Regions from separate parts of the Homo sapiens genome. Here regions 1, 2 and 4 are each linked to region 3. Evidence: promoter capture Hi-C in 16 types of primary human blood cells and fetal thymus (Javierre and others, 2016). All regions are on one chromosome and are shown on one strand. Each heading gives the region's core, a stretch centred on a gene start or on the middle of the fragment in contact. The rest is flanking DNA. Distances are from core to core; before and after follow the strand shown. Region 1 overlaps TUBA1B (tubulin alpha 1b). Region 2 overlaps SPATS2 (spermatogenesis associated serine rich 2). Region 3 holds the start of TUBA1C (tubulin alpha 1c). Region 4 overlaps KMT2D (lysine methyltransferase 2D).

Region 1 (7,209 bases), core at 473-2,972, 140 kb after region 3:
CCTGTTGTACCGTGGTGACGTGGTTCCCAAAGATGTCAATGCTGCCATTGCCACCATCAAAACCAAGCGCAGCATCCAGTTTGTGGATTGGTGCCCCACTGGCTTCAAGGTTGGCATCAACTACCAGCCTCCCACTGTGGTGCCTGGTGGAGACCTGGCCAAGGTACAGAGAGCTGTGTGCATGCTGAGCAACACCACAGCCATTGCTGAGGCCTGGGCTCGCCTGGACCACAAGTTTGACCTGATGTATGCCAAGCGTGCCTTTGTTCACTGGTACGTGGGTGAGGGGATGGAGGAAGGCGAGTTTTCAGAGGCCCGTGAAGATATGGCTGCCCTTGAGAAGGATTATGAGGAGGTTGGTGTGGATTCTGTTGAAGGAGAGGGTGAGGAAGAAGGAGAGGAATACTAATTATCCATTCCTTTTGGCCCTGCAGCATGTCATGCTCCCAGAATTTCAGCTTCAGCTTAACTGACAGACGTTAAAGCTTTCTGGTTAGATTGTTTTCACTTGGTGATCATGTCTTTTCCATGTGTACCTGTAATATTTTTCCATCATATCTCAAAGTAAAGTCATTAACATCAAAAGCTTTGTTTCCTGCGTTTTTTTCTAAAAGTGCCTTGGTTTTTAGATTCATCTATACTTGGAGTATAGAGAGTCTGGTGTCAAGGATCCCACTTACTGTGCAGGCACCTCTAGGGAAAAGGGAGCTCAACAGACTAGAAAGGCAGGAGCCCTAGATTCTCAGACTAGTTTACCACCTCAACGCTTGCATAGGGGGTGGGGAAAGTCATTCTGCTAATCTAAAGCTCATTTAGCTCTTCAGAGTAAGACTGGGTAGTTACTAATGAGTAATGTATAGGAAGTGTAAGTTTTGAATATCCACTGAGATGCTGCTGTTTAAAGTGGCCTGCTAACTTGTTAGTGTAATTAAGAAATTTCCAAGTGATCTTTGGCTGGTCATGGTGGCTCACACCTCTGATCCCAGGCATTCAAGACCAGCCTGGGAGACATGATGAAACTCCATCTACAAAAAAAAATTTGGGTGTGGTGGTGTGAGCCTATAAGCCCAGCTACTTGAGAGGCTGACAAGATTGAGGCTGTGGTGAGCTGTGATTGTACCACTGCACTCCAGCCTTGGTGACAGATCCTGTCAAAACAGTGACCTGGGAAAAACATCTGACTAGGAATATTTGAGGGTGGTGAGGTAAAGGCTGTTTCCAGCCCTATTGTGATAGGAAAAAGGACCAGAACTCATGGTGGTCAATAAAAGTCATGCTAGGTAAGAAGGCTAAACAATAAGCCATATGCATTGGTGGGAGAGGACTGCATTACATGAGGATAAAGCGGCAACTTTGGAAAGTTTAGGATAAAAGTTTATAATTTATAGCATTTGGCATGGTTTACATCCTTTCAAGTATTTTGGCTACATGTAACAGACTTGTAGGCACAGAGAATGTAAATAGAGGATTTAACCTAGGAGAAAACGTAGATTTCAAATCCGGAAAGCACAGGAAAATTATGGCTGCTGAAGACCTTGATGTCTTCTTGGTTCAAGACTGAAAGAATACATGAGGCATTTTTTTAAAAAGAAGAGGCCAGGCGCAGTGGCTCATGCCTGTAATCCCAACGCTTTGGGAGGCTTGAGGCGGGTGGATCACCTGAGGTCAGGAGTTTGAGACCAGCCTGGCCAACATGGAGAAACTCCATCTCTACTAAAAATACAAAATTAGCCGGACATGGTGGCGCATGCCTGTAATCCCAGCTACTCAGGAGGCTGAGGCAGAATTGCTTGAACCTTGGGTCAGGTGTGGTGGCTCATGCCTGTAATCCCAAGCACTTTGGGAGGCTGAGGCGGGCAGATCACGGGGTTAGGAGATCCAGACCATCCTGGCTAACACGGTGAAACCCCGTCTCTACTAAAAATACAAAAAATTAGCTGGGTGTGGTGGTGGGCGCCTGTAGTCCCAGCTACTCGGGAGGCTGAGGCAGGAGAATGGCATGAACCTGGGAGGCGGAGCTTGCAGTGAGCAGAAATCGCGCCACTGCACTCCAGCCTGGGCGACAGAGCAAGACGCCATCTCAAAAAAAAAGCAAAAACAGAATTGCTTGAACCCAGCAGGCGGAGGTTGCAGTGAGCCGAGGTTGCGCCATTGCACTCCAGCCTGGGCAACAAGAGCAAAACTTCATCTCAAAAAAAAAAAAAGTAGGGAAGTCTACAATTTTCCCAGTTTTTTGTTTTTTGTTTTTTTAGCCCATAAATCCTATAAATTTACAAAATGTAGTCAGCCCTCCCTATCTGTGGGTTCCATATCTAGATTTGACTAACTGGATTGAAAATACTTGGAAGCAACCGGCCATAGTGGTTCATGCCTATAATACCAGCACTTTGGTCAAGGCGGGAGGATCACTTGAGCCCAGGAGTTTGAGACCAGCCTAGGCAACCTAGGGAGACCCTGTCATTACAAAACTAAAACAAAAACAAATTAGCCAGTGTAATTGTGCTGCTGCATTCCTGTCTGGGTGCCAGAGAAAGACCCTATCTCAAAATATATATTTGGAAAAATGGATAGTTGTGTCTGAACTGAACATATACTTGTCCCCTTTATTCACTAAATGATACAGTATAACAATTATTTGCATAGCATTCACATTGTATTAGGTATTATAAGTAATTTGGAAATGACTTAAAGTATACAGGAAGATGTGTGCAGGTTACATGCAAACACCAGAGTTCTCTATATAAGGAACTTGAGCATTCATGGATTTTGATATCCTCCAGGGATACTAAGGGATGACTGCAACTCTCAGCTCCAAAGGTAATCTGATTTGGCATGAACAATTCAGAGAAAAAGCTTTGGTGGGGAGCCTACAGGCCTAGCATAGCAACAAAAATGTAGCCATCACAGGTTCCAAGGGAAAGCAGACATCTTTATTTATTTTTTATTTTATTATTTATTTTGAGATGGAGTCTCGCTCTGTCTCCCAGGCTGGAGTGCAGTGGTGTGGTCGTGGCTCACTGCAACCTCCGCCTCCCGGGTTCAAGTGATTCTCCTACCTCAGCCTCCCGAGTAGCTGGGATTACAGGCACCTGCCACCAAGCCTGGCTAATTTTTGTATTTTTAGTAGAGTTGGGGTTTCACCATGTTGGCCAGGCTGGTCTCGAACTCCTGACCTCGTGATCTGCCCGCCTCGGCCTCCCAAAGTGCTGGGATTACAGGCATGAGTCGCTGGGTGTGCCGAGCTGCAGACACCTTTAAAGAACTGAGAGGCCCGGGCACAGCAGCTCACGCCTGTAATCCTATCACTTTGGGAGCCCAAAGTAGGTGGATCACCTGAGGTCAGGAGACTGAGACCAGCCAGGCCAACATGGCGAAACCCCAACTCTACTAAAAATACAAAATTAGTGGCTGGGCACGGGGGCTCACGCTGAGATTATGCCACTGCACCCCAGCCTCGGTGACAGAGTGAAACTCTCAAAAATATACAATAAAACATTTTAAGCTGGGCACAGTAGTTCACTCCTGTAATCCCAGCACTTTGGGAGGCCAAGGTGGGTGGATCACCTGAGGTCAGGAGTTCGAGACCAACCAGGCCAACATGGTGAAACCCCGTCTCTACTAAAAATACAAAAATTAGCTGGGTGTGGTGGTGGGCACCTGTAATCCCAGCTACTTGGGAGGCTGAGACAGGAGAATTGCTTGAACCCGGGAGGCAGAGCTTGCAGTGAGCCGAGATCATGCCATTGCACTCCAGACTTGGTGATAAGTGCGAACTCCGTCTCAAAGGAAAAAAAAAATTTTAAAATTGTTTTATACATCAAGATGACTACTATTTTTTTTTTCTTGAGATGGAGTCTCGCTCTATTGCCAGGCTGGAGTGCAGTGGCTCAGTCTCGGCTCACTGCAACCTCTGCCTCCTGGGTTCAAGGGATTCTCCTGCCTCAGCCTCCTGAGCAGCTGGGATTACAGGCCTGCACCACCATGCCCAGCTAATTTTTGTATTTTTAGTAGAGACGGGGTTTTGCCATGTTGGCCAGGCTGGTCTCAAACTCCTGACCTCAAGTGATCCTCCCTCCTTGGCTTCCCAAACTGCTGGGATTACAAGGGTGAGCCACCACACCAGGCCAAGATGAATACTAATAATTATAAGTTAAGGCCTTGGGTTAAATGATATATTATGTGTGGGCCATGGGGGAGGGGATGGCTAGAATGAAATGGCACTGCAGTCATCTTATCTATACCTCTGCCCGGGCAGCAAGTACAGTGCCTGGTAATGCCCATAGAATGCTTCTAGGGAGGCCGGGCGCGGTGGCTCACGCCTGTAATCCCAGCACTTTGGGAGGCCGAGGCGGGTGGATCACGAGGTCAGGAGATGGAGACCATCCTGGCTAACACGGTGAAACCCCGTCTCTACTAAAAATACAAAAAATTAGCCGGGAGTGGTGGCGGGTGCCTTTAGTCCCAGCTACTTGGGAGGCTGAGGCAGGAGAATGGCGTGAACCCAGGAGGCGGAGCTTGCAGGGAGGCGGAGCTTGCAGTGAGCCGAGATCGTGCCACTGCAGTCTAACCTGGGCGGCAGTGAGGCTTTGTTTCCAAAAAAAAAAAAAAATGCTTCTAGGGAACCAAAAATAAATAATGGTAATTTCTCTTAGGCCAGATTCTTTTTCTTTTTCTTTTTCTTTTTTTTTTTTTTTTTGAGACGGAGTCTCACTCTGTCACCCAGGCTGGAGTGCAGTGGCACCATCTCGGCTCACTGCAAGCTCTCCCTCACAGGTTCACGTCATTCTCCTGCCTCAGCCTCCCGAGTAGCTAGGACTACAGGTGGCCGCCACTACGCCCGGCTAGTTTTTTGTATTTTTAGTAGAGACGGGGTTTCACCGTGTTAGCCAGGATGGTCTCCATCTCCTGACCTCGTGATCCACCCACCTCGGCCTCCCAAAGTGCTGGGAATACAGGCACGAGCCACCCCGCCCGGCCAGCCAGATTCTTTTTTTTCTTTTTTGAGACGGAGTCTCGCCCAGGCTACAGTGCAGTGGCGCAATCTCGGCTCACTGCAAGCTCCGCCTCCTGGGTTCACGCCATTCTCCTGCCTCAGCCTCCCGAGTAGCTGGGACTACAGGCACCCGCCACCACACCCGGCTAATTTTTTGTATTTTTAGTAGAGACGGGGTTTCACCATGTTAGCCAGGATGGTCTTGATTTCCTAACCTCGTGATCCACACGCCTCGGCAGCCGGAAGTGCTGGGATTACAGGCGTGAGCCACTGCGCCTGGCCCAGCCAGATTCTTTATTGTTCTACTCAATGTAAACTTTAAGCCCTAAGGTTTTGGAACTCTCACTCTGTTTCAGGGCCCAGGCTTCTTTGTCAAGTCTCAGGGGAGGGGCCTAGGGAACAGAGACATTTGGTTAGCCTCTTGTTCTGTCACTAATCAGGACCCCTTAATCTTCTGGGACTATTTTCCCTTTTACACTATAGATTTCCATTCTGCCTTTCTCAGAAGGGGTAGCAAGTAGGGCTTTAGAGTCTGGAAGGACCTGTAAACTTTTTTTTTTTTTTTTTTTGAGACAGAGTCTCACTGTTGCCCAGGCTGGAGTGCAGTGGCGCAATCTCGGCTCACTGCAAGCTCCGCCTCCCGGGTTCACGCCATTCTCCTGCCTCAGCCTCCCAAGTAGCTGGGACTACAGGCGCCCGCCACCACGCCTGGCTAATTTTTTGTATTTTTAGTAGAGACGGGGTTTCACCGTGTTAGCCAGGATGGTCTCGATCTCCTGACCTCGTGATCCACCCGTCTCGGCCTCCCAAAGTGCTGGGATTACAGGCATGAGCCACGGCGCCCGGCCTTGGACCTGTAAACTTAGAGATGTGCGTCCAAGTTGGGAGATGAGGGGCACTGCATCCCAGGTCTTGACATGTCTGCTCAGCCATACTCCAGAGCTGCTACAGAAGAATAGGCCATTTATTCAGAAAATAAGTATAACTTTTTCTTCTTCTTCTTCTTCTTTTTGGAGATGAAGTCTAACTCTGACATCCAGCTTGGAGTGCAGTGGTGTGATCTTGGCTCACTGCATCCTCCAACTCCCGAGTTCAAGTGATTCTCCTGCCTCAGCCTCCCGAGTAGCTGGGATTACAGGCACCCGCCACCACGCCCCGGCTAATTGTTTTGTATTTTTATTGGAGACAGGGTTTCACCACATTGGCCAGGCTGGTCTTGAATTCCTGACCTCAGGTGATCTGCCTGCCTCGGCCTCCCAAAGTGCTGGGATGACAGGGATGAGCCACCGTGCCCAGCCAATGAACATAATTTTTTTTTTTGAGACGGAGTCTCGCTCTGTCGCCCAGGTTGGAGTGCAGTGGCACTATCTCGGCTCACTGCAAGCTCCGCCTCCCGGGTTCACGCCATTCTCCTGCCTCAGCCTCCCGAGTAGCTGGGACTACAGGCGCCTGCAACCACGCCTGGCTAATTTTTTGTATTTTCAGTAGAGATGGGGTTTCACTGTGTTAGCCAGGACAGTCTCGATCTCCTGACCTCGTGATCCGCCCGTCTCGGCCTCCCAAAGTGCTGGGATTACAGGCGTGAGCCACCGCGCCCTGCCGAATATAAATTTTTAAAAGCCCAAGAAGGGTTTACTTAGAGATGAAAAGGATGATGATAATAACAATGATAACTAAACTTAACTACATAGATACCTTCTTTTTTTAACACAGAATGCTTAAATGCCTTCACAACCTACTGTTCATCCCCTCCTTGAGTTCACTGTTAAAATGAAAAGAGCCCAGTGCCTCATTTTAGAGATGACAGATTTAATTGGTAGGGACGAAGGGGAGAGATACCACAGCCTTGTGTCCTGCCTTGTAGGACTAGAAGCCTTAAATATTGCCCGCCACGAGATCAGAAGGACATGAGTCTTTCAGCCTTACCGAGGACCCAGGCTGTGATTTAGGGATGTGCTTAAACTAAGAGGCTTGAGCAAAGGAGGAGAGAAGAGCATTTTATCTGGAGATGCCATATTCCCCTCCCAATCCCATCAAACTCCTGGCAAATTCCTTAACGCCCTGCAGATGGCACCACTGACAAGTAGTTCTCCATCCAGGAGAGCCAAGCTCAGATTTGTGAACTCTGCCCTTGTCATCTTGGACCTGTGCTGAAAAGATGACCAACAAACCGGAAGTGACTGACCTGCCATCCCTAGCATTCACACACTTGTCAC
Region 2 (6,546 bases), core at 3,826-6,325, 250 kb before region 3:
GAGGTAAAGGGCACAGGTGTGGAGAAGGCCAACTCCCTTTGTTACAGCTTGCAGTTTATAAGCAATTATTTAGAATGCCAATGACCACAACCATCCGTGAATATCCCAATTTCCCTCAGGTTCACATGCTTAGTCTCAGAAACACTGTTCTTTATATAAGAATTTGGCCAGGCGTGGTGGCTCATGCCTGTAATCCCAGCACTTTGGGAGGCCAAGATGAGTGCATCACTTGGGGTCAGGGGTTCGAGACCAGCCTGGCCAACATGGTGAAACCCTGTCTCTACTAAAAATACAAAAATTAGCAGGGCGTGGTGACACATGCCTGTAATTCCAGCTATTTGGGAGGCTGAGGCACGAGAATCGCTTGAACCCAGGAGGTAAAGGTTGCAGTGAGTGGCGACAGCGCCACTGCACTCCAGCCTGGATGACAGAGCGAGACTCAAAAAAAAAAAAAAATTAAAAAGGTATAAATGTTGAACCCAAGTAATTGTTATAAATAGATTATAACAAACATCTCAAAGATAATTTTTCTCTATAAAATCAGAATTGGTCAACCAACTATTTACAGAAGACCAAGTACATGCCAAGGTGCTGTGCTAGGCACTTGGAGAGACAGGAGCTCCTGCCTGCCACTGTGAAGTTCACTATCTAGTGGGGAAGACAAAGTAACCAATGCACATAAAGTCATAACTACGCTCTGAAACCACAGAATGAGGAGATATGATGGGGAAGTCAGGAAGGATGAGGAGGTCAAGGGTGGTAACTGGGCCGGGCGCGGTGGCTCACACCTGTAATCCCAGCACTTTGAGAGGCCGAGGCGGGTAGATCACCTGAGGTCAGGAGTTCAAGACCAGCCTGGCCAACATCATGAAACCCCATCTCTACTAAAAGGATAAAAATTAGCCGCTGGGCGTGGTGGCTCATGCCCGTAATCCTAGCACTTTGGGAGGCTGAGGCAGGCAGATCACCTGAGGTTGAGAGTTTGAGACCAGCCTGACCAACATGGAGAAACCCCATCTCTACTAAAAATAAAAAAATTAGCTGGGCATGGTGGCGCATGCCTATAATCCTAGCTACTTGGGAGGCTGAGGCAGGAGAAGCGCTTGAACCGGGGAGGCGGAGGTTGCGGTGAGCTGAGATTGCGCTATTGCACTCCAGCCTGGGCAACAAGAGCGAAACTCCGAATCAAAAAAAAAAAAAAATTAGCCAGGCGTGGTGGCAGGCGCCTGTAATCCCAGCTACTCGGGAGGCTGGAGCAGGAGAATTGCTTGCACCTAGGAGGTGGAGGATGCAGTGAACCGAGATGGCACGCCATTGCACTCCAGCCTGGGTGACAGAGCGAGACTTTGTCTCAAAAAAAAAAAAAAAATAGTGGTAACTGTAGTTGGAGGCAGGGAGAAGAGCATTTGGACAGATGGAAAAGCAGGTGTGTCTGTGGAGTGTAGAAGCCTCCAGCCTCTGCTTGAGGGCAGAGGACCGGGGGGATGGTATGAACTGAGGGTAATGGCAGAGCAAGACTGCACAGTCCTTCAGACCGGATTAAGGATTATAGTATTCATCCTAAAAGCAACAGAAAGTTTGAAGCAGACTGCTGTAGTGTGGGGAACATACATGGAGGGTGGGGCGGGTGGGGCAGAGACAGAATGGATGAACAGAACCAGTTAAGAGGCTCTTACAGAAGTCCAGGCAAGAGATGGTGGTAACCTGATCATAATGGTGGTGGTGGAGATGAAGAGATAAGGTCAGATCTGAGATTTAGTCAAATGGATGGAGTGTGCTGACAGATTTAAGGTGGGAAATGGAGAAATTTCCTAAGGTTTCCAGCTGGGACAACTGGGTAGATGATAATACCACTTACAGAGAAAGGGACTTGGAAGAGGGCCAGGTTTGGGAAAGGAAGATCATGAGTTTAATATATTAGATATGGCCATGAATTATGAAAATTTCTTACTTTAGCCCCTGAGGATAAGAAGAAAGGCAGAAAGCAGAAAGAAGTTTTACCTTGATATCAGCTCTGAGCTCAACCAATTGCTGCTCTGACATTTGAACAGCCACATGAGTCATCTTCTTTAGAAGTTCAGCCTTCTTTTGTCGGCTGAGCAAAATTTCCACTGTAGAGGAAAAGTGAGTGTGAACCTTATGTTGCTGCTAAATAGGATAAAGAAGAACTAGAAATATAAGCCTTGCAGTAGGTATTTGGTCAGCCAAAGGCTTAGCTGCCTATCCACCCAGAAAATGAAAATATCAAAAGTCTGGTCTCTACCTTCCATTGGGTCTCTGAAGGCAGTTAAGTGGTAAATATTTTTTATAAATCACAAACACTCATAAATCATTGTTATTTCTCCTTCCAGTCAAAAAAATTTTATCAAGATGCATATAAATTAAAAAGGAAATATGTACACATAATAAAAAATATTCATCTAGAGTAAGTTGGGTATAAAATGAAAAGAGCATCTCTCTTATTTCTGATTTTGTGGTCTCCTCTCCAGGGGAAACGACTGTTCACCATTTCTTACGTACACATCCAAATATTGTGTATGTACATACAACATGCATACATATGTAGCTCTCTTTTTTCCCTTCTCACAAATGGAAGTATATCATACACATGGTCTTTCTTTTACCTTAGCTATTTTTACTTAATATATCTTTAAATTTATTCCCTATTAATACATCTGGATCACCTTCATTCTGTTTAACAGCCACCCAGTATGTGGATATACCACAATTATTTACCGAGTTCCCTAGTGATGGGTATTTAGATTGTTACACCCTTTTAAGAACCACCTTCTCTGGCATGCTTTCTGATATATAACTTGGATATGGTCATGGCAGAGAACATACAATAAAAATCTCCCAGAGAGACAGGGGCTACAGTGGAAACAAAACCAAAGAAATCCTCCCAGGAAGCAGATAAACCACCCAACGAATGTTCTCTACTACCAGGGAAGGGACTCTGCTATTCCTTCCCATCCAGCAAGATTTGATCATTGCTTTTCCAAGTGGGAATTTTTACTATAATTATCCTTTTCTTTCTCCAACTATGTAATATGGGAGAAGGGGGCATTTAGCCTTTCTTTTAATTTATGAGACCCCATCCTTGGAAGATCTGAAATCACTCTGAAGACCTGGCCTTTCAGCTGAATATTAACTAACTAGATGAGACTTTGGAGGTATTGCTATTGAGGAGGTGGTGAACATATTCTCATTTTGGAAAAAAGAGGGATACTGGGTAGTGGAGGACTGTAGCAAAGACCATTAGCTGATGGAACACAGTCTTTCCAACTACATTCAGGAACATTCAGGGCTATCAGAAATCCAATGTTGTTGGGTACCAACATAATTGGGTAAAAAAAAAATCTATATTTTCTGGCTTTGCTACAGATGAAACGGCCATGTGATATAGTTTCCCCATTGAGATATAAGCAGAACTCAAAGGGCAGGCTTTACAGGAAAGCGTTTTAAGGGAGTCTTAGCATGTAACGTTTTACTCCTTCTCGACTGGAGCCTAGGGAGTTGTCTTTTGACCATAAGCATACTCTCAGAATGGCTGGGCAGAAGAACAGAAGATCCTGGGTCCCTAATGTCATCTGGGAAATGTCCTGCCAGCCCTGGGTTGCTTACCTCTGTACTTTTCATTTTCTGAGAAAAAAGGACACTCACATTTATTTAGGCCACTCTGTTCCATGTAGTCAAACTCAATCCCTAACTGATATACATAGAATCCTGTAACACACTGAGGAATTAGCCAAATTCACGTCAGAAAAAAACAGAAGTTTTAAAGAGTTACACCAGGTATTACAGAGAGCTGGATGTATTTAGCAAGTTTACTCAGCCCAACTGCCACAGAGATGCACACATGGGCTGCCTAGACCCAAGTCACACTAATCAATCAGGGCCCACTTTCTCAGGAGTCAGGAGCATGCCTACAAAAGTTTCTTAACGCCAAAGCCCAACAGTTACAAATGATCTATTGGTTTAGGTCCCAAGATAAAACCTATTTGCCATTTGTATCAACTTCAGTTTCTCTCAGCTCTAGCATTCAGTGATTCTATGACAAAATTATAGCTCTCAAAATGGCAAAAATGAGGTGAATAAAAAGCTTTCTACACGTAACAGATAACTCATAGGACCTAATTATACAACACTGGAAAAGATTGAAATACTACAAACCTATCAGTTACTTAATAAAATTATAATATGTAAAAAACAAAAAGCAACTCTTGATAGCACTGGTAAATGAGTAATTACTCTTGATAGCATTGGTAAATGAGTAATATCATTGAGAACCAGGATTTTCAGGGAGAAAAGAGCTAAAGATATAAAACTGATGAAGTTAAGTAAAACTTTGAGCTCTGAATTTGATAAAATAAGATTGGCCACAAATTGATAATTGGTTGAAGCTGAGTGATGGGAATTTGTTACATTAGCCTCGCTATCTGAAATTTTCTTTTCTTTTCTTTTTTTTTTTTTAGTTTTGAGATGGAGTCTTGCTCTGTCGCTAGGCTGGAGTGCAGTGGCGCAATCTCGGCTCACTGCAACCTCTGCCCCCTGGGTTCAAGTGATTCTCCTGCCTCAGCCTCCCGAGTAGCTGGGACTACAGGCGCATGCCACCATGCCCAGCTAATTTTTGTATTTTTAGTAGAGACAGGGTTTCACCATGTTGGCCAGGATGGTCTTGATCTCTTGACCTCGTGATCAGCCCGCCTCGGCCTCCCAGAGTGCTGGGATTACAGGCGTGACCCACTGCACCCGGCCAAAATTTTCTATTAATATAAAAGATGTATTAATATTCTTAAAAGCACCTTCTTTTTTTTTAATTTCAAGACAGGGTCTTGCTCTATCGCCCAGGCTGGAGTACAGTGGTGCAATCACAGCTCACTGCAGCCTCGACCTCCTGGGCTCAAGTGATCCTTCCACCTCAGCCTCTCAACTAACTAGGACTACATGTAGCACATGACCCCATGCCTGATTTATATATATATATATATATATATATATATATATATATATATATTTTTTTTTTTTTTTTTTTTTTTTTTTTTGAGATGGAGTCTTGCTCTGTTGCCAGGCTGGAGTGCAGTGGCGCAATCTCGGCTCACTGCAACCTCTGCCCCCTGGGTTCAAGTGATTCTCCTGCCTCAGCCTCCCGAGTAGCTGGGACTACAGGCGTGTGCCACCATGCCCAGCTAATTTTTGTATTTTTAGTAGAGACGGGGTTTTATCATGTTGGCCAGGATGGCCTCGATCTCCTGACCTCGTGATCTGCCCGCCTCAGCCTCCCAAAGTGCTGGAATTACAGGCATGAGCCACTGCGCCCAGCCTTATTTCTTATTTTTTGTAGAGACGAGGTTTCACTATGTTGCCTAGGCTGGTCTCAAACTCCTGGGCTCAGGTGATCCGCCCAAAGTGCTGGGATTATATGCGTGAGCCACCACGCCTGGCCTAAAAGGACCTTCTTCTCAAAACTAAGAAATATGTCTTCTTAGTGGTTTTAGTTTATCTGCATTTCCATTTTCAAAAAGAGAATATACAGATAAAATAATGGACTGAAATGTCAAATTTAGAAACTCAAAATATATTGCTCAATGTAATGAAATCTCACCTCTGAAAAACAGTGGAAGGCATCTCTGCTACATTCTCAAATTTTCAAGTTAAAATGGACCAAAGCTGAAGTCATTTCAGTGCTTCAAAGCTGCATCCTCTGGCCCGTGACCACACACACAAGTGATTTAACTGTGAGTCATGATCTCGACCTAGCCCAGCATTTCTATTCTTACCAGTTTGGGGGTGGGTTAAAATAAACAACTTTCCTAATAATTAATCTGGCGTTCAATGCAGGAAGATAAAACCTGCCACCGAAATGCCTCAAATCAATGCCATTGTACAAGTTGCAGTTGGTATTCCCTTGTCTTCGTGTAGCTGTGTATGTTTAACCTAACACTTAACAGAAATGATCAAAAAATAGGTATCTGTTTTTTCTGTACAAAACCCCACAAATCACCAAAGTTAGACTTCATTCCTCCAGAATCTATTTTAGTAAGCTTTCAAGAAACCTGGTATCTTGAACCCTCAATTCTCTAACTTTTCCCCTACCCATTGATAACAGACACTGAGTGAAGACTGTTCTATAAACTGAGAAAACAAAGAAAGTTCTGAGATAGGTAATGATAGGAGTATACACATACAATCGTAGGCAACCTAATGAAGTCTTCTCTGATTATGCTAAAGGTTTTTTTCCAAGTAGAAAAAATCCCAGTGGAATTGCTTAAACACTAGAGGAAGAAACAAAATAAAATAAAAACCTGGTGGCAGATACCGTGATGCAGTCTCTTATACACTGAACTCTGCATTCAAAATATTAAGATTTGGAAATATTTTTAAAACAGGCTCTTTAAAGTTATTTCACCTGAAAGGATTCATATGCCAGTACAGTGCAACTGCTTAAGATTATTTAAATATATAAACTCTTATTATGGTATTTATATGGAACTTTTGTTATAAGGGTTGGGAAGTAGGTACCTACTATTTATGAAGGTAATAGCT
Region 3 (6,795 bases), core at 498-2,997:
AGGTCTCGCTGGAGTGCAGTGGTGCGATCTGGGCTCACTGCAGCTTCCACCTCCCGGGATCAAAAGATCCTCCCACCCCTGCCTCCCGAGAAGCTGGGACTACAGGCACGCACCACGACGCCCAGATAATTTTTGTATTTTTAGTATAGACGGAGTTTCACCGTGTTGCCCAGGCTGGTCTCGACCTCCTGAGCTCAAGCGGTCCTCCCGCCTCGGACTCCCAAAGTGCTGGGATTACAACCATAAGCCATCGCGCCCGGCCTAAGATAGTTGTTTTCAATACTTCTGGAAGCTTTATAGAAAACACTCAAGTTACGTATAATTTCACGTTTCTTGAAAACTGAACTAAGAACACGTGGTACTAGTTTACTCTGGGGTTTGCGGGTTTTTTTTTGTTTTTGGACGGAGTCTTGCTCTGTCGCCCAGGCTGGAGTGCAGTGGCGCGATCTCGGCTCACTGCAAGCTCCGCCTCCCGGGTTCACGCCATTCTCCTGCCTCAGCCTCCCGAGTAGCTGAGACTACAAGCGCCTGCCACCACGCCCAGCTAATTTTTTTTTTTTTTTTTTTAGTAGAGACGGGGTTTCACCGTGTTAGCCAGGATGGTCTCGATTTCCTGATCTCGTGATCCACCAGCCTCAGCCTCCCAAAGTGCTGGGATTACAGGCGTGAGCCACCGCGCCGGGCCGGGTTTGCGTTTTTTTGAGACAGTTTCGCTCTGTCGTCCAGACTGGAGTGCAGTAGCGCGATCTCGGCTCAGGGAAACCTACGCCTCCTGGGTTCAAGCGATTTTCCTGCCTCAGCCTCCCGAGTAGCTGGGATTACCGGCGCGCGCCACCACGCCCAGCGTTTTTTTTTGTTTTTTTTTTTTTTTAAAGTAGAGACGGGGTTTCACCATGTTCGCCAGGTTTGTCTCGAACAAGTGCTGGGATTACAGGCGTGAGCCACTGCGCCGGGCCAACTCTGGTTTTATAAGAAAATATCCTTTTGTGGACGTGTTTTTAAACCCGGCTTAAGTAGAAAGCTTCAGCTATAAACCTACCACTAGATTAACACCAGAAATGCAGGATTAGGCAACGTGAAAGTTAATTATTCCCTTCCAAGGAGGTGCCTGCCTCCATTCTCAAGTGGACTGGCGCAGTTGGAAGCTCTCCCCAGGGCAGGGCCACAGGTGACTCAGCAGCGAGTCACTGGGCGCTGGAGAGGGGGAGCCAGGAAGTGCTGCACCGTCGGTGCGGGAGCGCACGAGGGCCTCCGGGGCCCAGTTTGTAAGGCAGTAGGAAGGAGAGGTCGCTTGAGAAAACGTGGGGAGGGATTTTTAGTTTAAGTTCTTGGAGGCCAATGAGCAGGCTCCCTGACCTTCCTCCCTAGGGCAGTAGCGGGCCCTGCGGGGAAAGCCCTCACTAGGATCAAGAGGGCTTTCCATTTCCACTGATGGCCGCACCCGGGCCAGGTTTTCCGGCCCGAACTGGTGTCTGCCAAGTGAACTCGACCTTCCAGCCCGGCCGCCACAAGCCAGGTTAACCGGAGGGGCCCGGGGTAGTCTGGAGCTGTCCTGGGCGCGGCCCGAGGTGCAGGCAGTAGTTTCCGGGCCCGCCGTCCCCTGGGACGCGCACTCTTCCCCAGCCCCGAGGGAACCCCACTCACCATGACTAGAACTTGAAGGGGTCTGCGGCGGTGAAGGAGGCGAAGGGACGGCAACAAGGATCTCCCACTAACAGACTACCAAGGAGTCCGGGGGAGAAGTAGTGAAAGGGTGGCCGGCCCCGAAGGGCCTTATATACCCGGTCCCCGGCCACGTGTCGGGAGGGCGGGCCCCAGACCCCGCCCCGTGCCGCTGCGGCCCCACCTTCGAGCCCTGGCCTGCGCCCGGCCGCACCCGCGGAGTGGGGGCGCGCGGCGCTGATTGGCGGATTCAAAAGTTCAAACCAAACTCGTCGGAAGGAGCCAGGAGCAGGAAGAGGAGGAAGGGGAGGAAGGGGAGGAAGGGGAGGAAGGGGAGGAAGGGGAGGAAGGGGAGGAAGGGGAGGAAGGGCAGGAAGGGCTCTGGGGCTGGAGAATGGGCCGGGACAGGGACAGAGGTGTCCACTGGGAGGAGGGAGCAGGCCGGACGTCTGCCCCGTCCCCGGTGGGTGCGGGGGCGTCAGGTGGGCAAAACCCCAGCGAGGGGAAGCTCCAGGTAAGAGGGCGACCGCGCCCAGGAGGGAAGCCCTTACTGCACCGCCCCGGCCTCGCCCCCGGTCCCCGCGGCTGCGCTCCCTACGCCGCCGGGGAGGCGCCGACGCCGGGACCAGGCTGCGGGTTCCGCCTCGGAGTCCTGGCTGCCGGGCACCCCGGCTGGGCCCGCGGGCGCCCGCTCCCCTCGCCGCTGAGGGCTGTCCAGAGAGAGGGCTTGCTCCCCACTCTAGGTCTGAATCACCACGAACGCGCCTTAAACTCTATTCCCACCTTTTTGGTTGCTTTTCCTTACGTCCTCTTTAAATGAGCCTTTGGCTTCTAACAGTCTCCTCCCGATAGGCGCAAAAGCAGTTTTTTCAGTTCATTAGGATAATGAATAGCTTACATTTTTTGATTGCTAACTATGCAGAGTAGTTGGCTTTTTTTTTTTTTTTGAGACGGAGTCTCGTTCTGTCACCCAGGCTGGAGTGCAGTGGCGCGATCTCAGCTCACTGCAACCTCTGCCTCCCGGGTTCAAGCGATTCTCCTGCCTCAGCCTCCTGAGTAGCCGAGACTACAGGCGCGTGCCACCACACCTGGCTAAATTTTTGTATTTTTAGTAGAGACGGGGTTTCACAGTGTTAGCTAGGATGGTCTCGATCTCTTGACCTCGTGATCCGCCCGCCTCGGCCTCCCAAAGTGCTGGGAATACAGGCGTGAGCCACCGCGCCTGGCCGAGTAGTTGGCTTTTCATATCACATGATCACATTTCATCCATATGACAAACTCTATGAATTATTATCCCTAGTTTACAGATGAGGAAAGTAGAGCTCCGAGGAATTAAACCCTTCAACACTAACTTGTACTGCGTCATACTAAATGTGCCTCTCTGACCATCTCTGCCAAGGTTTCTCAGAAGCGCCTTTTATTTCTGTTGTTTTTGTTTCTCTGCAACTCTATCATGTTATCTTAGCTCATGAATTCCTTGACCATCTCTGGGAGATACAGAGTTTATGGAAATATTGAGGGAACAAAAGTGAATTTTCTGGCCGGGCACGGTGGCTCATGCCTGTAAGTCCAGCACTTTGGGAGGCCGAGGCAGGCAGGTCACTTGAGGTCAGGAGTTCAAGATATACTTCAACTCACACATACAAAATGGCCCTTGTGGAACATATGTGTAGAGATTTTAGTCTTAGTAGAGCTTTTCAACTTTTTCATTCATTCCCCAGATATATTTAGCACAGTATCCGAGATGCTTAGGGAATATGTTTGTGAGCAAAACTGATGGCTCTGCCTCATGGAGAGGGAATAGGGAAGATAGGGAAGTGGGAGTGGGATAGGGAAGAAAAACAACCAACAGGCCTGGCGCAGTGGCTCAAGTCTGTAATTCTGGCACTTTGGGAGGCGGGCGGATCACTTGAGGTCAAAAGTTTGAGACCAGCCTGGCTAACACGGTGAAACCCCATGTCTACCAAAAAATGTGAAAATTAGTCGAGCATGGTGGTGCACACCTGTAATCCCAACTACTCGGGAGGCTGAGGCAGAATTACTTGAACCTGGGAGGTGGAGGTTGCAGTGAGCAGAGATCGTGCCACTGTACTCCAGCCTGAGTGACAGAGACTCTGTCTCAGAAAAAAAAAAAAAAAAAAAAGAGTAATTCTCTTGTACTTTAAATTAATTTTAAGCATTGGGATCCATATTTAGATTTGCTGCCCTCTGCTGGAATTTTTTGGGGAAAAATTTCCTGGGTAGACAGTTAAACATTTAACCTTTATGTTAACAGATCTTTATGAGTCTAAAAATTACAGTGTAAGGAGAGGCAGAAACTGGACTTACTTTTCAGTTGACAGTTTCCAGAATTCACCAAAAATATGCTAAATTATTATTATTATTTTGACATGGAGTCTCGCTCTGTTGCCCAGGCTGGAGTGCAATGGCATGATGTCAGCTCACTGCAACCTCCACCTCCCAGGTTCAAGCAATTCTCCTGTCTCAGCCTCCCAAGTAGCTGGGGTTACAGGCATGTGCCACCATGCCCAGCTAATTTTTGTATTTTTAGTAGAGATGGGGTTTCACCATGTTGGTCAGACTGGTTTCAAACTCCTGACCTCAGGTGATCCACCAGGCTCAGCCTCCCAAAATGCTGCGATTACAGGCATGAGCCAGTTTGCCCAGACTATGCTAAATTATTAATAGGGTGACAGAAGACACGGTTCAGTGATCAGCCTTTTTTTTTTTTTTTGCTATAAAACTTTTTTTTTTTTTTTTTTTTTTTACACAGGGTCTCACTCTGTCACCCTGGATGGAGTGCAGTGGTGCAGCCTCGACTTTTTGGGCTCAAGCAATCCTCTTGCCTCAGCCTCCCAAGTACCTGGGACTACAGGTGTGTGCTACCATGCCTGGCTAATCTTTTTTTTTTTTTTGTAAAGATGAAGTCCCACTATATTTCCCAGGCTGGTTTTGAACTCCTAGGCTCAAGCAATCCTCCTGCCTTGGCCTCCCAAAGTGCTGGAATCACAGGTGTGAGCCACCACGCCTGGCTAATATATAACTTTGGATGGACATTTCCCCTCCTCAGGGTCCAGGTTTTGAATGTGCAATATGAGGAGATTGGACAGGATCCTCTGTAAGGCCCTTACAGCCCTAACATTCTGTGATGTGTGACTCAAAGTTTGTGGGGTTCATGTGAGCTCTACAAATATGAGCAAAGGAGAAAACATGCTTCCTCAGTCAACATCTTGACTGAAGAATCACCAGAACATTAGATAAATAATTACAGATGGGGCTTTCGTTGTAATCTTACAATGCTTTAGGGAAATAAGCGTTGCATACCTACTGCAGCTTTCTTGGGCTTTAAATGACCATATAGCATGTTCACAAAACATCACAAAACATTAGTAAAGAGAAAAGAATTCAGATAAAACTGAACCTTATTTTTTTTCAGCCTAACTCCTGTTTTCTTTGCTGAGATACTAGTAATGCTGAAGTATTTGTTTGTGTTCAGTTACAAATTACATGATACAATTAATGATGTAGGAATATTTTGTGCTTATGTAGAAATTTATAACAAAATGTTTTCTACTGCAATAGTGCCTTGGTAGAGTTTTTATAAATGAGTTTTTACAAAGGTATTTATTATGGAACTGTGGAAAATAAAGTCCTGAGACTTGAAATAATTTACCCCAAACCACAAGAGATAGGAGTCAGATTAAATACCTACAATGACAGTTGTCTCTTTTATTCTAGGTTCTTCCTCAGCCTGTTATTGGCTCTAGTTAACAGGGAAAGGGAAGTCCTAGAAAAGTCATTTATTGAATTTGTAGTCCTATGGTAAGGTTACTAATGTAACAAGAAAAAAAATTTACCCTACTTTTAACAACCCCAAAGGACAGCTAGGACTCTGCAGTTGAACAACCTTCTTTACAATAAGCATTTTTTTTTTTTTGAGACGGTGTCTCGCTGTGTTGCCCAGGCTGGAGTGCAATGGCGCTATCTTGGCTCAGCGCCACTGAGCCCCAGGCTGGTCTCAAACTCCTGACCTCAGGTGATCTGCCTGCCTCGGCCTCCCAAAGAGCTGGGATTACAGGCATGAGCCCCTGCGCCCAGCCTACAATAAGCATTTTTTAAGATTTATGCATTTCAGCCAGGTGAGGTGGCTCATTTCTGTAATCTCAACACTTTGGGAGGCCAGGGTGGGCAGATTGCTTAAGTCCAGGAGTTCGAGACCAGCCTGGGGCAACATGGCGAAACCCTGTCTCTATGAAAATTAAAAAAAAAATTAGCTGGACATGGTGGTGTGTGCCTGTCGGCCAGCTACTCGGAAGGCTTTAGTGGGAGGATCACTTGAGCCTGGGAGGCTGAGGCTGCAGTACGCCAAGATCATGCAACTGCACTCCAGCCTGGGGGGAAAACAGACCCTGTTCCACCCAAAAGAAATAAAATTATGTATTTCAAGGCAGTTTGTTTTTTCTCCTTTTTTATGCCTTGTATGTACAGAATAGCAGGACATTACTTTCTAGGTAACATGTTATTTTATTTTATGGGAAAAACAGTCCTTGGATCCTTTAACTTTTATTTATTTCTCTTTTATCCCACAAATGTTTGCAGTCTTTAAAAGTTCCTACAAATTCTTTAGAAGTTCTCTTCCTCCCTGATTTGAGCTGTGTTTTGGACGACTTCCCCTTTGGCAGGGCTTAGTATGTGAAATGCTAGCTCCATTCTGGGAGATTACCATAGAAGATTGACTTTCATCTCTGAAATTACACATTTTCTTTCCACTGAGATTTGGCTTGTTCTGATCTGCTTTATATTTCCTAAAAATACAGTGCTGTGGCATCACTTCCTCGGTGACTAACTGAAACAACTGAACCGGTTCCTTTGACCTGTATTCCCACCCTGTATCCCTACACCCAAGACTTCTTACTCAAGCTCTTGCTAATCTTTTCTGGAATTAACTACCATTCCCTTGCCCCCTTCCCCCATTCCTTTAGGATACACAGATAAAATTCTCTTGGAGGAAAAGTAAAAGGAACTACTCATATTCTTCAATTGTCTACAGTATTACTCTAATAAAAGGACTATATCATAGAGCCTGGAAAACTTTTCTATTTATAGTAACATTTATTTAATAAATTTATTCAT
Region 4 (5,913 bases), core at 2,018-4,517, 240 kb after region 3:
CATCTTGGGGGAGGAGGCCCCTCGTTTCCCTCATCTGGGCTCAGGCCGGTGGGAGCAAGAGGACCGGGCCCTCTCCCCTGTCATCCCCCTCATTCCTCGGGCCAGCATCCCAGGTATGTGCTACTCTGGATGTGGGCCAGGCCCAGTTCACCTGGGTTGTCCGAAGCTGGGGGAGAGGCGGCCAAGTGTTACACAAATTCCTCTTTCTCATTCAGTCTTCCCAGATACCAAACCTTATGGGGCCCTTGGCCTGGAGGTCCCTGGAAAGCTGCCTGTCACAACTTGGGAAAAGGGCAAAGGAAGTGAGGTGTCAGTCATGCTCACAGTCTCTGCTGCTGCAGCCAAGGTGTGTCCTAGGGGTACCTCGAGGCTGAGGGGAACCTGATCAGAGGGCAGTCCCTGGAATTTGTCTGGATAAGGAAAAATGTAGTCGTTCAAGCACATGTACTGAGTACCTATTGTATGTGAAAGCCTGGGCTAGAGGCTGTGAGATTCGGGTAAATGAATCATGGTTCCTGCCCTCACGGGGCTCGTAGTCCCATGGTAAAGACAGACAAGTCAACAACTAAGGAGCACCTGTGTGTGTAATGACACAGGTACTACATGACAGCATTGCCCCAGTCATGTTTGGTGGGACTCTGTCAGCTGTTTTGAAAATATTAACGGGCTTTTGTGGTCAAAGAAAGTTGGAAAACACAGTTAAAATGACAATATGGGTTTCTTTACTACAAGAGTCCTCAGGTCCTTTTAATTTGCTAACGTGTATCATGAGCCTCCAAGTCATGGATAGAGCATGCATCATTTCCTAAACGTAGTTGATGTAGTTCCCTTTTCGTGGAGCTCCCGTCAGTGCCCACAGCAGTTTGGGAAAGGCTGCTGTGAGGGAAGTGTATGAAAAGAGCTGGGTGACATAGGATAGAACTACCCTGGGGAGTGGGTTCTAGGTGTCCTTGTCCCCACCCAGCTGGTAGTAGAGCTCACCTCAGACACTTGGCTGATATGTTTCTTCCATCCCTTCCCTGGCCCTGGCAGAACCTGAATGGCGTGATGGTGGCAGTGGCGGAGCTGCTGAGCATGAAGATCCCCAACTCCTATGAGGTGCTGTTCCCAGAGAGCCCCGCCCGGGCAGGCACTGAGCCAAAGAAGGGGGAAGCTGAGGGTCCTGGTGAGTGTGGCAGGGAAGCCCTTTGGGACTTGAGGGGAGTGATTCTGGTGGGAGGCTCTGATCCACTCCTTTCTGCAGGTGGGAAGGAAAAGGGTCTGGAAGGCAAGAGCCCAGACACTGGCCCTGATTGGCTGAAGCAGTTTGATGCAGTGTTGCCTGGCTATACCCTGAAGAGCCAACTAGACATCTTGAGCCTCCTGAAACAGGTAGGTCTGGGGGAGAAAAAGGGGTGGGTGTTAGAAAAAAGGGGCTGCCGGCCAGGCGCGGTGGCTCACATCTGTAATCCCAGTGCTTTGGGAGGCAAGGCGAGTGAATCACTTTAGGCCAGGAGTTTGAGACCAGCCTGGCCAACATGGCGAAACCCCGTCTCTACTAAAAACAAAAACAAAACAGTAGCCAGGCGTGATGGTGCGTGCCTGTAATCCCAGCTACTCGAAAGGCTGAGGCATGAGAATCCCTTGAACCCAGGAGGCAGAGGTTGCAGTGAGCCAAGATTGTGCCACTGGATCCAGCCTGGGCAACAGAGCAAGACTGTGTCTCAAAAAAAAAAGAAAAGAAAAGAAAAAAGAGGCTGTCTAGGGCAAAGAATGTGGAGGCCTTTTGGGAGGGTGGCATATGGGTGAGGGGAAGGAGGGAGCTAGTTAGATGAGGAGCTGGCACTAATGATACAGGGCACCCTCCTACAGGAGAGCCCCGCCCCAGAGCCACCCACTCAGCACAGCTATACCTACAATGTCTCCAATCTGGATGTGCGACAGCTCTCGGCCCCACCTCCTGAAGAACCCTCCCCGCCCCCTTCCCCCTTGGCACCTTCTCCTGCCAGTCCCCCTACTGAGCCCTTGGTTGAACTTCCCACCGAACCCTTGGCTGAGCCACCCGTCCCCTCACCTCTGCCACTGGCCTCATCCCCTGAATCAGCCCGACCCAAGCCCCGTGCCCGGCCCCCTGAAGAAGGTGAAGATTCCCGTCCTCCTCGCCTCAAGAAATGGAAAGGAGTGCGCTGGAAGCGGCTTCGGCTGCTGCTGACCATCCAGAAGGGCAGTGGGCGGCAGGAGGATGAGCGGGAAGTGGCAGAGTTTATGGAGCAGCTTGGCACAGCCTTGCGACCTGACAAGGTACCGCGAGACATGCGTCGCTGCTGTTTCTGTCATGAGGAGGGTGACGGGGCCACTGATGGGCCTGCCCGTCTGCTGAACCTGGACCTGGACCTGTGGGTGCACCTCAACTGTGCCCTTTGGTCCACGGAGGTGTATGAGACCCAGGGCGGGGCACTGATGAATGTGGAGGTTGCCCTGCACCGAGGACTGCTAACCAAGTGCTCCCTGTGCCAGCGAACTGGTGCCACCAGCAGCTGCAATCGCATGCGTTGCCCCAATGTCTACCATTTTGCTTGTGCCATCCGTGCCAAGTGCATGTTCTTCAAGGACAAGACCATGCTGTGTCCAATGCATAAGATCAAGGGGCCCTGTGAGCAAGAGCTGAGCTCTTTTGCTGTCTTCCGGCGGGTCTACATTGAGCGGGACGAGGTGAAGCAAATCGCTAGCATCATTCAGCGGGGAGAACGGCTGCACATGTTCCGTGTGGGGGGCCTTGTGTTCCACGCCATCGGACAGCTGCTGCCTCACCAGATGGCTGACTTTCATAGTGCCACTGCCCTCTATCCCGTGGGCTACGAGGCCACGCGCATCTATTGGAGCCTCCGCACCAACAATCGTCGCTGCTGCTATCGCTGTTCTATTGGTGAGAACAACGGGCGGCCGGAGTTTGTAATCAAAGTCATCGAGCAGGGCCTGGAGGACCTGGTCTTCACTGACGCCTCTCCCCAGGGTGAGCAGTGGGCCCTTGAAATGGATAATATGGAATGGGAAAAGTTTCTCCCAGGGTCACTGTTACAATGTCTATAAGAGGACCTGTAGCTTCTATGTGAATGATCCTCCTTCCCCCACCTCAGGCAGGCAGGGGGTCTCTTGAAAACTCCCAGTGAAAGTGTTTGAGCCTCTCTTGTCACCCTAAATTCCCTTGTAGTTGAAAATATTTTGCTGGTCTAATCTCACATATTCTAGTTCTGTTGCTATCCCCAGTGGAACAAAAGGAAACAGTTCTGAGACTATCATCTGCCTCACCCAACCTAATCCTAACCAAGTTCCTTGGGGTTGTTTTTCCCTGGACGAAATCAGAATTATTTTGATTTTAGTTTTAGTGTTAATGATAAAATAACAGTAAGAGCAGGTACCTTTTTTTGAGTGTGTACTGTGAGCCACAAACTAAGCTAAGTGATTTGTGTAGTTTATTTTGTTCATACAACCCTATGAGGTAAGTATTATACTACGATTATGCCCAGTTTGTTCATAAAGAAACTGAGTCTCAGATTTCAGTACAGTCGTGCATTGCTAAATGACAGGGATACATTCTGAGAAATGCATTGTTAGGTGATTTTGTCATTGTGTGAACTTCATAGAGTGTACTACACAAACCTAGATGGCATAGCATACTACACACCTAGGCTCTGCGGTATACCCCATTGCTCCTAGGCTACAAATCTGTACAGCATGTAACTGTACTGAATACTGTAGGCAGTTGTAACATACGGTAAGTATGTGCATCTAGACATAGAAAAGATACAGTAAAAATACAGTACAGTATTATAATCTTACCAGACCACTGTTGTATATATGATTCCTCATTGAATGAAATGTTGTTAAGCTGCACGTGACTGTATTTGGCTCAAGGTCTCATGACCAGTACTAGAACCTGAACCCAAGTCTTTCCAACTCCAAAGCATGCCTGCTCTTTCACTAGGGACCTTCCATGGCCTATGCTGGGTCTCCTGGGCCCTGGGTTTGTATCTCAAGGCTCTGTGATGACCCCTTGGGGTTGGAAACCTCCTGCTTCTTAAGAGAGAGTGAGACTAGGAGGCCAAGAGAGGATCTGGAAGACCAACACAACTTCATGATAGGGAGGCTTGAAGGCCTCAGAAAACTGCAGTTCTGGATTGGGGTTAGGGACTGGAGGTCAGTGAGCAGAAGTTGCCTCTGAGGACTGCTCTCTTCCCTGCTTCTTAGCCGTGTGGAATCGCATCATTGAGCCTGTGGCTGCCATGAGAAAAGAGGCTGACATGCTGCGACTCTTCCCTGAGTATCTGAAGGGCGAGGAGCTCTTTGGGCTGACGGTGCATGCCGTGCTTCGCATAGCTGAATCAGTAAGGAAGGGGCTGGGAGCTGGGGGGCTTGGCGGGCACTGAGAACTTTGGCCTAACCCCAAAAAAACTCAGGCTAAGGTGAGTATGAACTGTGCCCACAGCTGCCCGGGGTGGAGAGCTGTCAAAACTATTTATTCCGCTATGGGCGCCACCCCCTTATGGAGCTGCCACTCATGATCAACCCCACTGGCTGTGCCCGATCAGAGCCTAAAATCCTCACACACTACAAACGGTGAGCTTGTGATGCTGGAGCCAAGGGATGTGGGTGTGGGTGTTGACAGGGATCCTCTGGTCCCATTATGAGGATTTAGGATACAGATCAGAGTTCCCGTGGAGAAAATGGGGAATCACTCTTAGACTTCCTAATTAGAGGGCATGCAGGTATTAGTAGGGTATCCTTTTCCTCCTCTCCCAACCTGCTCAGATGCACTTGGGATATAGGACAGAATTATCTTGGGCACCCTGGGGAGGTAATGGGTAAACTGGTGAAATTTTATGAAATATATAAGGGACTTGGTCACCTCTTTCTTCTCCTGTTTTACTTCTGGGGGAGGGCCTGTGATTCTCCCAAACCTCAGATACCCCATGGGTGCTAGGGTCACCTTCCCTTCCCCATGAGTGTTGGTGTCAAAAATAAATAGTTAGAGATATAATAGAAAAATAATAAAACCTTACATTTGTATAGCACTTTATACTTTTTTTTTCAAAGCGTTTTCACATCCATTATCTCATTTGATCCTCACAACAACCTTATGAGGTAGGTAGGGCAGGTGGTATGACCCCCATTTTACAGCTGAGAAAACTGAGACCCAGAAAGATTAAATGACTAGGCAAAGGTCACACAGCTGGGACCAGACCCTTACTTCTTCACTGCAGGTCCTTGTTCTTTCTGTGTACCAGGGACCTTAGTCCCTGGGTAGAGGGAGGCAGAATCTGTGGTAGCAGGGCTTTCTCGAAGGTCTTTGGTGGCTCCTAGGCTGTTGTAGAATGTCAGAGACTCTCCATCCCTAGCCAGCCTTGTCCTTGATGCCCTGCAATGGTGGTTTTCAAACTGTGAGTGCCTGTGTTCCAAAAAGTCCTGGATCACTTAAACTGATGGGTTGAACTTTTCCTTCCCATGCATATCTCTTCCTTCCCCAAATTGGATTAAACCAGAAGAGCTCCATTGTCATCTAGTTTATGTATTGGAGTTCCAGTCAACATTTTGTTAAAGAAAAAAGCAAAGATTTCTGCTAAATAAAAAAAGAACCAGAAACGTTTGAAAACCACTGCTCTGGGATGGCAAGAATTTGGCTGGTGCCCTAAGGTGGTAAAAGGCATCCTGCCAGGCAGCCGTCATTCCCCTGCACTGAGCCATCTGCACAGAGCCCAATGTTATGTCAGAGAAGGGGACAGTCCGAAGAAAGGATACCACCTTTAGGCTGTGAGTTCACAGCCAGTTTTAATTCAAATCTAGCCCAGCGTGGTAGGCACAGTCCCCATTTTCAGGGCTTCCAGTATGTGCAGGAGGTAGGATTCAGACATTCAAGCAAACCATCAGCTTAAATTC

What was found. The method cuts DNA at HindIII sites, captures the fragments that hold promoters and counts their contacts. A CHiCAGO score of 5 or more calls a contact.
Region 1: a contact is called between a fragment that was not itself captured here and the fragment with the promoter of TUBA1C in region 3, in 1 of 17 cell types (monocytes). The highest score is 5.1, in monocytes.
Region 2: a fragment that was not itself captured here is called in contact with the fragment with the promoter of TUBA1C in region 3 in 8 of 17 cell types (total B cells, total CD8 T cells, M2 macrophages and 5 more); the score reaches 6.9 in total B cells.
Region 4: a contact is called between a fragment that was not itself captured here and the fragment with the promoter of TUBA1C in region 3, in 1 of 17 cell types (monocytes). The highest score is 5.9, in monocytes.

Annotation. Positions count from the first base shown.
Region 1 is chr12:49,121,158-49,128,366 of GRCh38, reverse strand. TUBA1B (tubulin alpha 1b) reads left to right here. Exons shown (of 4, transcript NM_006082.3): 4 at 1-585. The coding sequence ends at 409. Among named protein-coding and RNA genes, the nearest start is that of TUBA1B, 6.6 kb to the left of the region's middle. RefSeq lists enhancers at 1-187, 188-689. The HindIII fragment of the contact is 2,267 bases long and covers 589-2,855 here.
Region 2 is chr12:49,514,638-49,521,183 of GRCh38, reverse strand. It overlaps SPATS2 (spermatogenesis associated serine rich 2), which reads right to left. Exons shown (of 14, transcript NM_023071.4): 11 at 2,002-2,111. Among named protein-coding and RNA genes, the nearest start is that of KCNH3, 21 kb to the left of the region's middle. The HindIII fragment of the contact is 1,942 bases long and covers 4,105-6,046 here.
Region 3 is chr12:49,260,034-49,266,828 of GRCh38, reverse strand. TUBA1C (tubulin alpha 1c) reads right to left here and starts at 1,747. Exons shown (of 4, transcript NM_032704.5): 1 at 1,645-1,747. The coding sequence starts at 1,647. RefSeq lists silencers at 1,118-1,331, 1,686-1,945, 1,986-2,425 and an enhancer at 1,396-1,555. The HindIII fragment of the contact is 8,287 bases long and covers 1,024-6,795 here.
Region 4 is chr12:49,023,261-49,029,173 of GRCh38, reverse strand. KMT2D (lysine methyltransferase 2D) reads left to right here. Exons shown (of 55, transcript NM_003482.4): 45 at 1-113; 46 at 216-346; 47 at 1,033-1,165; 48 at 1,244-1,371; 49 at 1,852-2,992; 50 at 4,228-4,364; 51 at 4,466-4,596. Among named protein-coding and RNA genes, the nearest start is that of PRKAG1, 7.4 kb to the right of the region's middle. The HindIII fragment of the contact is 8,267 bases long and covers 1-5,913 here.